2 separate regions of the Homo sapiens genome follow, and region 1 is linked to region 2. Evidence: promoter capture Hi-C in 16 types of primary human blood cells and fetal thymus (Javierre and others, 2016). All regions are on one chromosome and are shown on one strand. Each heading gives the region's core, a stretch centred on a gene start or on the middle of the fragment in contact. The rest is flanking DNA. Distances are from core to core; before and after follow the strand shown.

Region 1 (4,549 bases), core at 35-2,534, 240 kb before region 2:
GAACTTCTGGGCAATATGGTGAAACCCCATCTTTATAAAAAAATACAAAAATTAGCCAGGTGTGGTTGTGCACCTATAGTCTCAGCTACTCAGGAGGCTGAGATGGGAGGATCACTTGAGCCCAGGAGTTTGAGGCTGCAGTGAGCCACAGTTGCACCACTGCACTCCAGCCTGGGTGACAGAGCAAGACCCTGTCTCAAATAAATAAGTAAATAAAGAGAACTGGGAGGTTTCATCCCCACACATGGCTGGCCTGCAGCCACTGACTGACTCATTACTGGGGGAGAAAGCAGGTCCTCTTGCCTCAAGGAGGCATAACCTTCTGGTACTCTTCCTGTGGTGGTGCTCCCTGTGAAATCAGGGATCTACGCTGGACTTCAGAAACCATGTCTTTGATCAGCTTCTTCCCCTTCCCTATCCTGCTCCCCTCACTGCTTCATAAATTTCCTCAGATGTATTCTCAATAAATCGCTTGTGCAAGAATCCCCATCTTGGGCTCTGCTGCTAAAGAATTCAACCTAAGCCTTAGCACTTTCCTACACACATACATTCATAAAGAAACACACAGAGACTCACACCCTTGAGAGTCCTCCTGTTCTAAGGAATCTAAGTAATCTCCAGCTTTGCTCTCCTCATAACAACATCCCCCCATTGTCAATATTCACCCCACCCCCACCCACTGTCAAGATACACATTTCCATACATTACCAGCTCTGTGGCACAAATTGGAAGTAATATCTTTCTGGGTTCAAAATGTTCTCAGAGTTTTTATGCTTTTTGTTTTTTAAAAAAAAAATAATAGAGACGGGGTCTCACCATGTTGCTCAGGCTGGTCTCAAACTCCTGGCCTGAAGTGATCCTCTGACCTTTGCCTCCCAAAGTGCTGGGATTACAGATGTGAGCCGCCATGACCGGCCTATTTATTTATTTAAAACTTAACTCTAGCTTGGCAATCAGAGGTTATTTAAAGGTTGTTTCTAAATATGGACTTATGAAGGAAATCAAAACAAGGCAGGAAGGAACCACTAGGTAGGAAAGATGTGAGAAGAAATTTACAAGTATGAAGAGATAAAGAAAATTGAAAAGAGAGTAATTTTTTCTTTTGTATAGGAGATAACCTTATATGGTCAAAATGATAAGGAGAAAAGAAAAGTAAATCTTTGTCCTAAGGTACAATGCCAATTTTAAAAAAGGAAGTATAGGACCAAATGAAGGTTTAAGCAAGTTGTAGAAGGTTTGTAGAAGATAAATATCATGAAAAATTTTATGTGATTGAGTTGGCTAAAAGTAGAAGGGAATTATTTATAAGTTTTTCTAAAAATTGAGCATTAATATTAAAGTACACTGATGGAAGGCTAAAGTGTGGGCCTATGTGTTGGAACAATAGAGTTTTCTCAGAGGATTGGTTTACTCTTAATAGAAAATTGTGAGAGGATTTTCTCTTCCAGGTAACTGGCCTAGAAAACAGAGATTTCATGTTTCATCAATATAACTCTTCTTGTGCTTTTTGCCTTTGAACTCTTTTTTCACTTTGGTTTTATTTCATAGTGACCTATGATCCGATTTTGATCAAATGTTTTAAACCTTTGGTATTTGACAAACTTCTCAAAAATCAAAATTAAGTCTTTTTGACCTTGAACTAACTTTGGGATGTTCCAGAGGACCCTGGAATTTCTTAAAGAATCTGTAAAAGAGAGATGTTAAACCAAATGGCCTTATCTGATAGGTTAAATTATATGGGAAGCACTGTTAAAATAAGAAATGATGTTTAACTTTCTTTGTGCTATATTTTTATAGATATGTTATTAATATGTTCCAAAATTATATAACATTCCTAGAAATGTGATAGGTCTTGGTATAAATGCTACCAGTCATAATTTTGGTTATTTTAAATTGTTGTGTGCCACAGAAATATCCAAATATCCTTGTCAATTGGGTAACTCACATCAGATCTTTAAATATAGCCACTTTAAGTCTTGTTGTCCACAGTTAATTGTTTTGTTCTGATACTTTTTCTGAAAGCTCTTTGTAAGCCATTATAATTCTAAAGTGCTGTGACTTCAAAGAGTTATATGGGAAGAATGAAAAGAACTCTGACAAATACAGGTTTCTAATAACTTTGAATTCATACCATTCGTTGGAATTAAACTACCAGCCAAGATCAAACAGAGCAAGAATTAATTACATGAGACTGAATGAACTGATGGAGAAGAATTACAGGTTTTATGGCTTTTTTATTTGAAACATTGCTGGTTCTTTTAATATTTGTTTTCCAGATCTAAAGAAAATTTTTCTTTAAAGCTATCTGCAGTTTACAGCCACTTGGTTAAGCATACTTTTTTTTTATTTTTTGAGACAGGGTCTCACTCTGTCACCCAGGTTGGAGTGCAGTGGCACCATCTGGGCTCACTGCTACCTCCACTTCCCCAGCTCAAGTGATTCTCAGCCTCAGGCTCCATGCCCAGCTAATTTTTTGTATTTTTTGTAGTAACGGCGTTTTGCCATGTTGCCAGGCTGGTCTCAAACTCTGAGCTCAAAGCAATTGTCCGCCTTGGCTTCCCAAAGTGCTGGGATTACAGATGTGAGCCACCGCACCCAGCCTTGTTAAGCATACTTTCATAAACAAAAATTGAAACATTTGCTTTTCCTCTCTACCTGATCCTTCCAGAATTTGGAAACTCTTTGTGAGTATTCTTATTTTTATGGCAATATGATTATTTACATGAAAGTTCAATAGAATCTGTTCTTTTAAATAGAATACAATTGGAAAACATTGGTTATATTATCAAGGCTTTGAATAGAATATCATATTTGAAAATGTGCACAGAATTCCTGGCTTCAAGGGCTGCTAGCCTTACAATGAGTGAATAAAAAGTCGTTCCTTCCTGGGAGGCCCAGTAACTTCAAGATATTAGATACATCAGGCAAAGCCTAATGTCTGCCTTGGTTTGACTTCATAGCATCAAGACGTTTTAAAAAGTCCAATCTGAGATTCCTTGTCAAAATTTCTATCAAAGCAATTATTTTTTGGAGACATGGTCTCACTGTGTTGTCCAGGCTATAGTGCAGTGGCTATTCACAGGCACAATCATAGTGCACTGCAGCCTTGAATTCCTGGGCTCAAGCAATCCTCTCACCTCAGCCTCCCAAGTAGCTGGGCTCACAGGCAAGCAATACCTCGCCAGGCTTGGCAAAGCAAATTTGAAAGGAGTCACCTATGTAGTTATTCTTGCTGTACTGTGTAAATAATCAATCAGGCCAAGTTTGAGACCAAACTTATTTTGTAAACAAATTGGTCTACCATGATCGTCTTTGATAGAAATGGAGGTGACTATAGAAAGAAAAACATATGGTTCAAAAGAAAAGCATAGTAAAACTGTTCTTAGACTGTAGCCCTGTTCAATATTTATGAGTTTTTATTATCTACCTGTAGACTGAGCTGGATTCTTAATTCTTTTAGCTTTCACTAATATCTGGCTACAACACTCCAATGAAGACCAAGAACTACTCAGTTCCTGAAGCTCTGTAAGCTGAAGCTGAGCAACTCAGTGTAAATTTCAAGAGATGAATCTCATGCTTAAACTGTGGGCCACATAGAGAGTTCGCCAGAATGCTGGATGCCACAACTAGAGACAATAAAACTACAAACCAAAACAAGAAGTTGTCAACTTCATGCTGTAGACAGCTCCAAGACTGTCAGAACAAGACTCCCTATCATAAGATGCTTATCCCTTTTAATTTTCCCTTACTTGTGCCTACCTCTTTCACTTGGCAGGATAGTGCTGTAGTTAAAACTTCACAATGAGTAGCTTCTTTGGGTAACTTACACTTTCTGCTTTAATTTAACCAGTCATGGAATGCTAGATTACCTGCTAACTCAACAAGGAAGCATCTGTGCAGTTGGGTGACACTTCTTGTTCCACATATATAAATACATCAGGTACTACAGAGAAGACTTCTTGGTTAAAACAGGTAGTCTCCTTGTCAGGCTATTCAATTTTAGTTGGTTTGATTCATGAGAATCCTGGCTAAGGAGCATACTATAAACCCTTGGTATTATCTCCCTGATAGTCATAATAGCAGTCTTCCTGGTACATTATACCCTCTCAAAGTTTTAAATGTTTCCAAAAAGCCACCTGTCAGACATCGAATGGTCTCTCTCTGAAACAACAAAAACTCAGAGACATACATGATAATGAGGAGGGCACCATAAGCTACACATGACCTCCTGAGACCAGAAACCCAAAATGATGGTAACAGAGTAGCACTGATCTCCTACATTTTGTTCACTCTTACCTAGGTGAGAGCCTGATCAAAACGGGGAAAATCATCAAACAAAAATGGTAAAGGCCATTGTTTTAGTCTTCTTGAGCTTTGCCCTCCCAGAGCTTTGCAGCTTTTAGTAGCCAGAACGAAGGAGTAGAGCAGCCTTCGGTGGCTCAGGGGCCAAGCAGCTGTGCCCATCCTGGGGTCATGCAAGGCACAGGCACATAGTAAAATAAAAAATAAAAATAAAAGGCCATTGTTTTAGACTAAGCTCCCGCACTAG
Region 2 (5,021 bases), core at 1,986-4,485:
ATTTATTTTGTGACCACACCCTCTTGTATCTTGTGGAAACAGAAAATTGAAATTTAATATCACATTAAGAAATAGCCATTTTTGAAGTAGTTTAAAGGAATATATCAGTTGACATTGTTTAAACTGAGTTTTTAAAGTAAAAGATGAAATTTTAGGGAAAAGGAGTATGTGAAGCCCGTTTTTTGAGGAAGCTTTTAAAGTTACACATTACCTGTGAAGCCTTTTGTATATATCACCCATTGTCTAATTTTGAAGAAAAATTAAAAAAAAATACAAACGCTTTTGCTAATTCATGCAAATCTATATTTTAATATATAGGGGTTTAGAATAATTTGTAAAAAATAATGTCTAATGTTCTGGGCTAAAATGTCAGTTAATCAGTATATTCATTTTAAAATATGAACTCATACAACCAACTATATTTCACATTTCAAATACAGCATTTCAACTGCAAAATCATATTCAACATAAATTATAAAAGCTAATAATTTTCAAAATTCATGTTAACTTTCACTTAATGTTATATTTGACAAGTTTTAGAATACAGTTTTATTTATGAACTTTTTTGGGAATAATATTGCAGAAACACAAATGGTAACATTATTTCTTTTGAATTAGTATGAAGTATTACTAGAGGTATATTTATTCGAGTAAGTTAAGGTCTTAGCTAACATTGAAATCCTATAAAAATGGAAAATTTTAAGTGTGCCAAATTTTCTGAACTGACAGATTAAACATCAGGTCTTTGTCACATCAGTTAGATTTATAATTAAATAAAGCAGAAATGTCAAGTTAAATGATGATTAAGAAAAATACATTTTCTCTAGAGCAAGATTCTGTTCTTTCGTAAATGTTAAACAGTGTGGTGGGGTGCATGCATCTTCTGACCTACCTGTTTGCTGTTGCCTTATGGGCCTTTTGGTTCACTATGACAGTTTTTGGCAAATTGATACATGATATCATTGACAGATTTTGACATGAATTTTTACCTGACAACAGTGAAGTAGCTGTGTTTTATTTCATGTCTTGTAGGAATTCTTTCGTTTTCTCTCCAATACTTCAACTGCATGCATTATGAGATTTAGTTGGCTGATGGATTTCTAAAGAACAGTACATAATATTTGTATTTGTTTTGCTTTAAAAAGTCACGGCCAAGAGGAATTTCCTCAGATGATAGGAATTATGTTTCCCTTTGATGGAGTACATGATAATATTTCTTTATTTTCCAGAATATGTGAAAACAAAAAAGGAAACATAACGTTTGTAGCTTCTAAAATATATTTAGACATCCTTTTGTTACCATTGTAAATCTGTTTTTAATAGCAGTGCTCACTATTTTGAAATGATTTCTTGATCACATAACTTGCTTTATATTATAAATCCAGGCCATGTCCTTTTGATAAAAACCATCTGCTGTTTAATTTTGTTTGTTTTCATTAGAAGAGGATACATAATTGGTCATAAAAGTCAGATAGAAAAATCCATTAGTCATACCAATTGATATGAATATCTGAATATTTAGTGCAGAAAACACTTCCTAAATCTTCCTTTTGTGTGCTGATAAAGTATTTTCTTTTCTTTTTGGAAATTCATGTTTCATTATGTCTTCCAGAATCAGTAACTTCCACAATTCTGGTATATGAAAGTATAAACTTCCCCTTTTAAAAATTCTTTTCAGGCTTTTACAGTTATATTGTTTTTCTTTTTGTGGTTATTTTATGTAGCATCTTCTTAGGATACAGTTGATTTTTTATATTCCATCAGTAATGTAGACCTATTCCCTGGTTTTAACTCCTTAATGTCTTAAAGTCGTGTTACAAGAACATCTTGCAGTTCGTAGTTCAGACAGCTAGGGAGATGCTCAGTCAATTGCATTCTTCATATTGTCAGTTGTAAATACTGAATTAGCTGCTATTGGCCCTTGTGAAAAGAAGAAAATTGGTTAAGAAATAGGGTTTTTAATAATTTGTAATTAATTGCAAGTTACTTTAGTTTTGTTTAAAAACTATCCAGTATTTGTTATCAAAATAACCAAACTGTTATTATTAGAGCCACAGCTATATGCATAAAATTGTTTCTTTAAATAAGTCTTTTTTCCTAATAAAGATTGTATATATTATGTTATTTAACAATAGAGTTCACATTTCAAATACAATTGTGAGAGAAAAGCTATATTTTTTAAAACTAATTTCTGCTCTCATTTTAGAAGCTAACCTGTATTTTCAGAGATGATGAACAATTAGCATACACTAAACATACTGTTATTTCTTCTTTGTAATAAATTTAACAACATTTTTTGCTCTAAAAATATTGTAACTTGCCTAATTATTAGCACATGGTTTGAATTTTAACTCATTAAAACAGATTTCATAAGATACTATAAATTTCCATTGATGAATTGTTCATGTGGTTGAAATACAAAAGGTAATAAAAATTGTAACTGCAAATTAATTTTCAGTGAACATGCCAAATAATAAACTTAACATAAAATTAAGTAATAAGTAACAGCAAAATAGTAAACCTAGTTCTTTTAAGAAACAGAAGCATTTTTGAAACACTGGAGAAAAACTGTACTGATTACATTAAGAATATTTAGTATATCTGAAGTGACTCAAAAGCTGTCTTCATAATGAATTTACAAAGAATATTTGTATTTAACAATGCATCCTAAAAAATTACATTTAAAATGTAGCATGTCTTAAAAGAAATAGATCTTAAAATACATGTCTAGCAATAAGTAGAATTAAACAAACTCTTAAAATTTAGGCTGAAATTTTTCAAAGTAATTTTTACCCCACTATGCCGGTTCAAAAGCAGCTGTATACTATAATAGGAACAAATCTTACCTCTGCTAAAGATTTGATAAATTCTTGATGTAGTTGAAGCATTTCCAGTTTGGATTGATTCATTTTGTTCACTTGTTAGTAGAGGACTGGGGGAAGAGGGTCATAAACATCTCTTCGAAAATGACCTTAATGAAAATATGTGTCTGTAGTGTGCCATTGTTTCAGCAGTACTGCTAATGTATGGAACATGTAGTGCTGCTTAGAGGCTGCTGCAGTCTCTCACTCTTCCTACTGTGGAATCAATAAGCATCTGAAAATACATAATGAAAGTAATTTAACATACTGAAGGCTTCTTGTCTCCAGAGACAACATTTAGATTCAGTCTTTCTAAAAAGGAACGGCACTGCTTTTCAGAGGAAAGCCTGTTCGGGCAGCTTTTGCAGAATGACAGCCTACCTTGTCGCTTCTCTCCACTGCAGAGAGATGCAGTGTATTCACTAATTTTGATTGGTCAGTTGTATTGGGCTTAAACTGTGCTTCATATGTATAGCAGGGATTTCCCCCGCTCCCCACTGTTTTATATAAAGGACACTTTTAAAAAGGCTAAATTTATGAGTGGTTGTATGTTGTTCTTAAATAGAATATGTGTAAATTAGTATTTTAAAAATGTGTATTCTATTCTGGTTTGTTGGTCACTTATGCCAAACATTAAAAAAAAATGCAGGGAGGTGGGGGAACAGGAAAGAATTACATAGTAAAAAGTATATATGCTTTCTAAAGCCTTGATAATTGCATTTGAGAATATTTTAGTCATATATAGGTTTTTGATTGAGATTCTTTGTTCTACAAATAGAAACCCACTGCATCTTTACTGTGAGCCACAGTGAATTTTAAATAGTTTGTTTGTATTCAAGTCATCTTCTCTGGGTATTCCAAATTGTTGTGAGCATCTCAAGGTGTTAAACATTGTCATGACTTCAGTATTCATTCATTTGGGTATTCATTCATTTCATTCATTCATTCATTCAAAATAATAATCAGATTGACCTAAGGTGATAATACCCTAAAATATTTTTTAAACATTTCATTATAGTAGCTTAGTCTCGGGTATAAAACTTCAATCAGTAATCATTGTATTACTTTTGGAGATTACTACTTGGTCTTCACCTTTCATAACCCTTTTATTTGGTAGATGTATACTGATCATTTGCTATAATATTTTATTTCAATTGGCTTATTCTATTTTTGACCTGGGCACATTTCTTAGTAGATTGCTGTTTCTTAAATATGATATGTAGCTACACGCTAATATTGTTAGTAAAATATTATTTTAAAGGATAAAGTAAGTTACATGTCTTTATAAGTTATAAAGCCAAATCATTATAAGATAGATACATTTTCAAAATGAAAATAATGGTACAAGTACTGAATATTTAAAATTAAATATTTAAATATTTAAATTAAAAATTTTAAATTAAATTAAATTTAAATTAAATTTAATATTAAAAATAAAATTAAAATATTTAAAATTAAATTTCTGTTAATTTTAGTTACCTATAAATAAGTTCCTGTTTTTAATGATGAGGATAAATTTCTTTTAGACTTAAGTAGATAAAACAGCTGGACTCTGTTGACAAAATAGAGGACATTACATGTGGCTAAACTGTTAGAATGTTAATTATCACCTGTTTCCATTATTTTAGGAATATTTAGTGACCTTCATTTTTCAAAATGTATACTGGTTTTTATTTGCAATTGGAACTATTCTCTTATTATTTGAAAAGCCGTATGCATTTTTATAATCTTCCACTGGTAGTGTTGAATCTTTATAGGGGAATAGCTGACCAATATGAGTTGTGAGTTGCATTTCTATAGAAGTTGAGAGTAATATGGTGGAAAATTTTGTTGTGAATTTCTAAAATCTTCTGCACAGCTTTGGGTGGCAAGGCTTTGGTAATTCTAAAAATGAAAATGTTGTGCTGCTATTCATGCGTTTTGAAAGTTGGGGAAAAGGATCTTGCTAGAATGCCAGCCATTTATAAAGAAAACTTACACACACCGAAACACACACACACACACACACACCACAGCACACACATTCATTTAAGCTTAAAACTAAGACCAGAGAAAGCATAGCATCAGTGGAAATATGTGATGGGGATGAGGAGATTATTAACACAGCAGAGTGCTTTTCTGCCAGAGTTCAAGTATTTGCTTATGTTTATCATCAGAATA

The links. The method cuts DNA at HindIII sites, captures the fragments that hold promoters and counts their contacts. A CHiCAGO score of 5 or more calls a contact.
Region 1: a contact is called between a fragment that was not itself captured here and the fragment with the promoter of GPR22 in region 2, in 2 of 17 cell types (naive B cells and naive CD4 T cells). The highest score is 5.8, in naive B cells.

What each region holds. Positions count from the first base shown.
Region 1 is chr7:107,704,940-107,709,488 of GRCh38, reverse strand. The region is part of intron 18 of SLC26A4 (solute carrier family 26 member 4); the gene reads right to left. Among named protein-coding and RNA genes, the nearest start is that of CBLL1, 37 kb to the left of the region's middle. The HindIII fragment of the contact is 6,874 bases long and covers 1-4,549 here.
Region 2 is chr7:107,468,271-107,473,291 of GRCh38, reverse strand. GPR22 (G protein-coupled receptor 22) reads right to left here and starts at 3,235. Exons shown (of 3, transcript NM_005295.3): 1 at 2,847-3,235; 2 at 990-1,920. The region is part of intron 6 of COG5 (component of oligomeric golgi complex 5); the gene reads left to right. The HindIII fragment of the contact is 4,703 bases long and covers 194-4,896 here.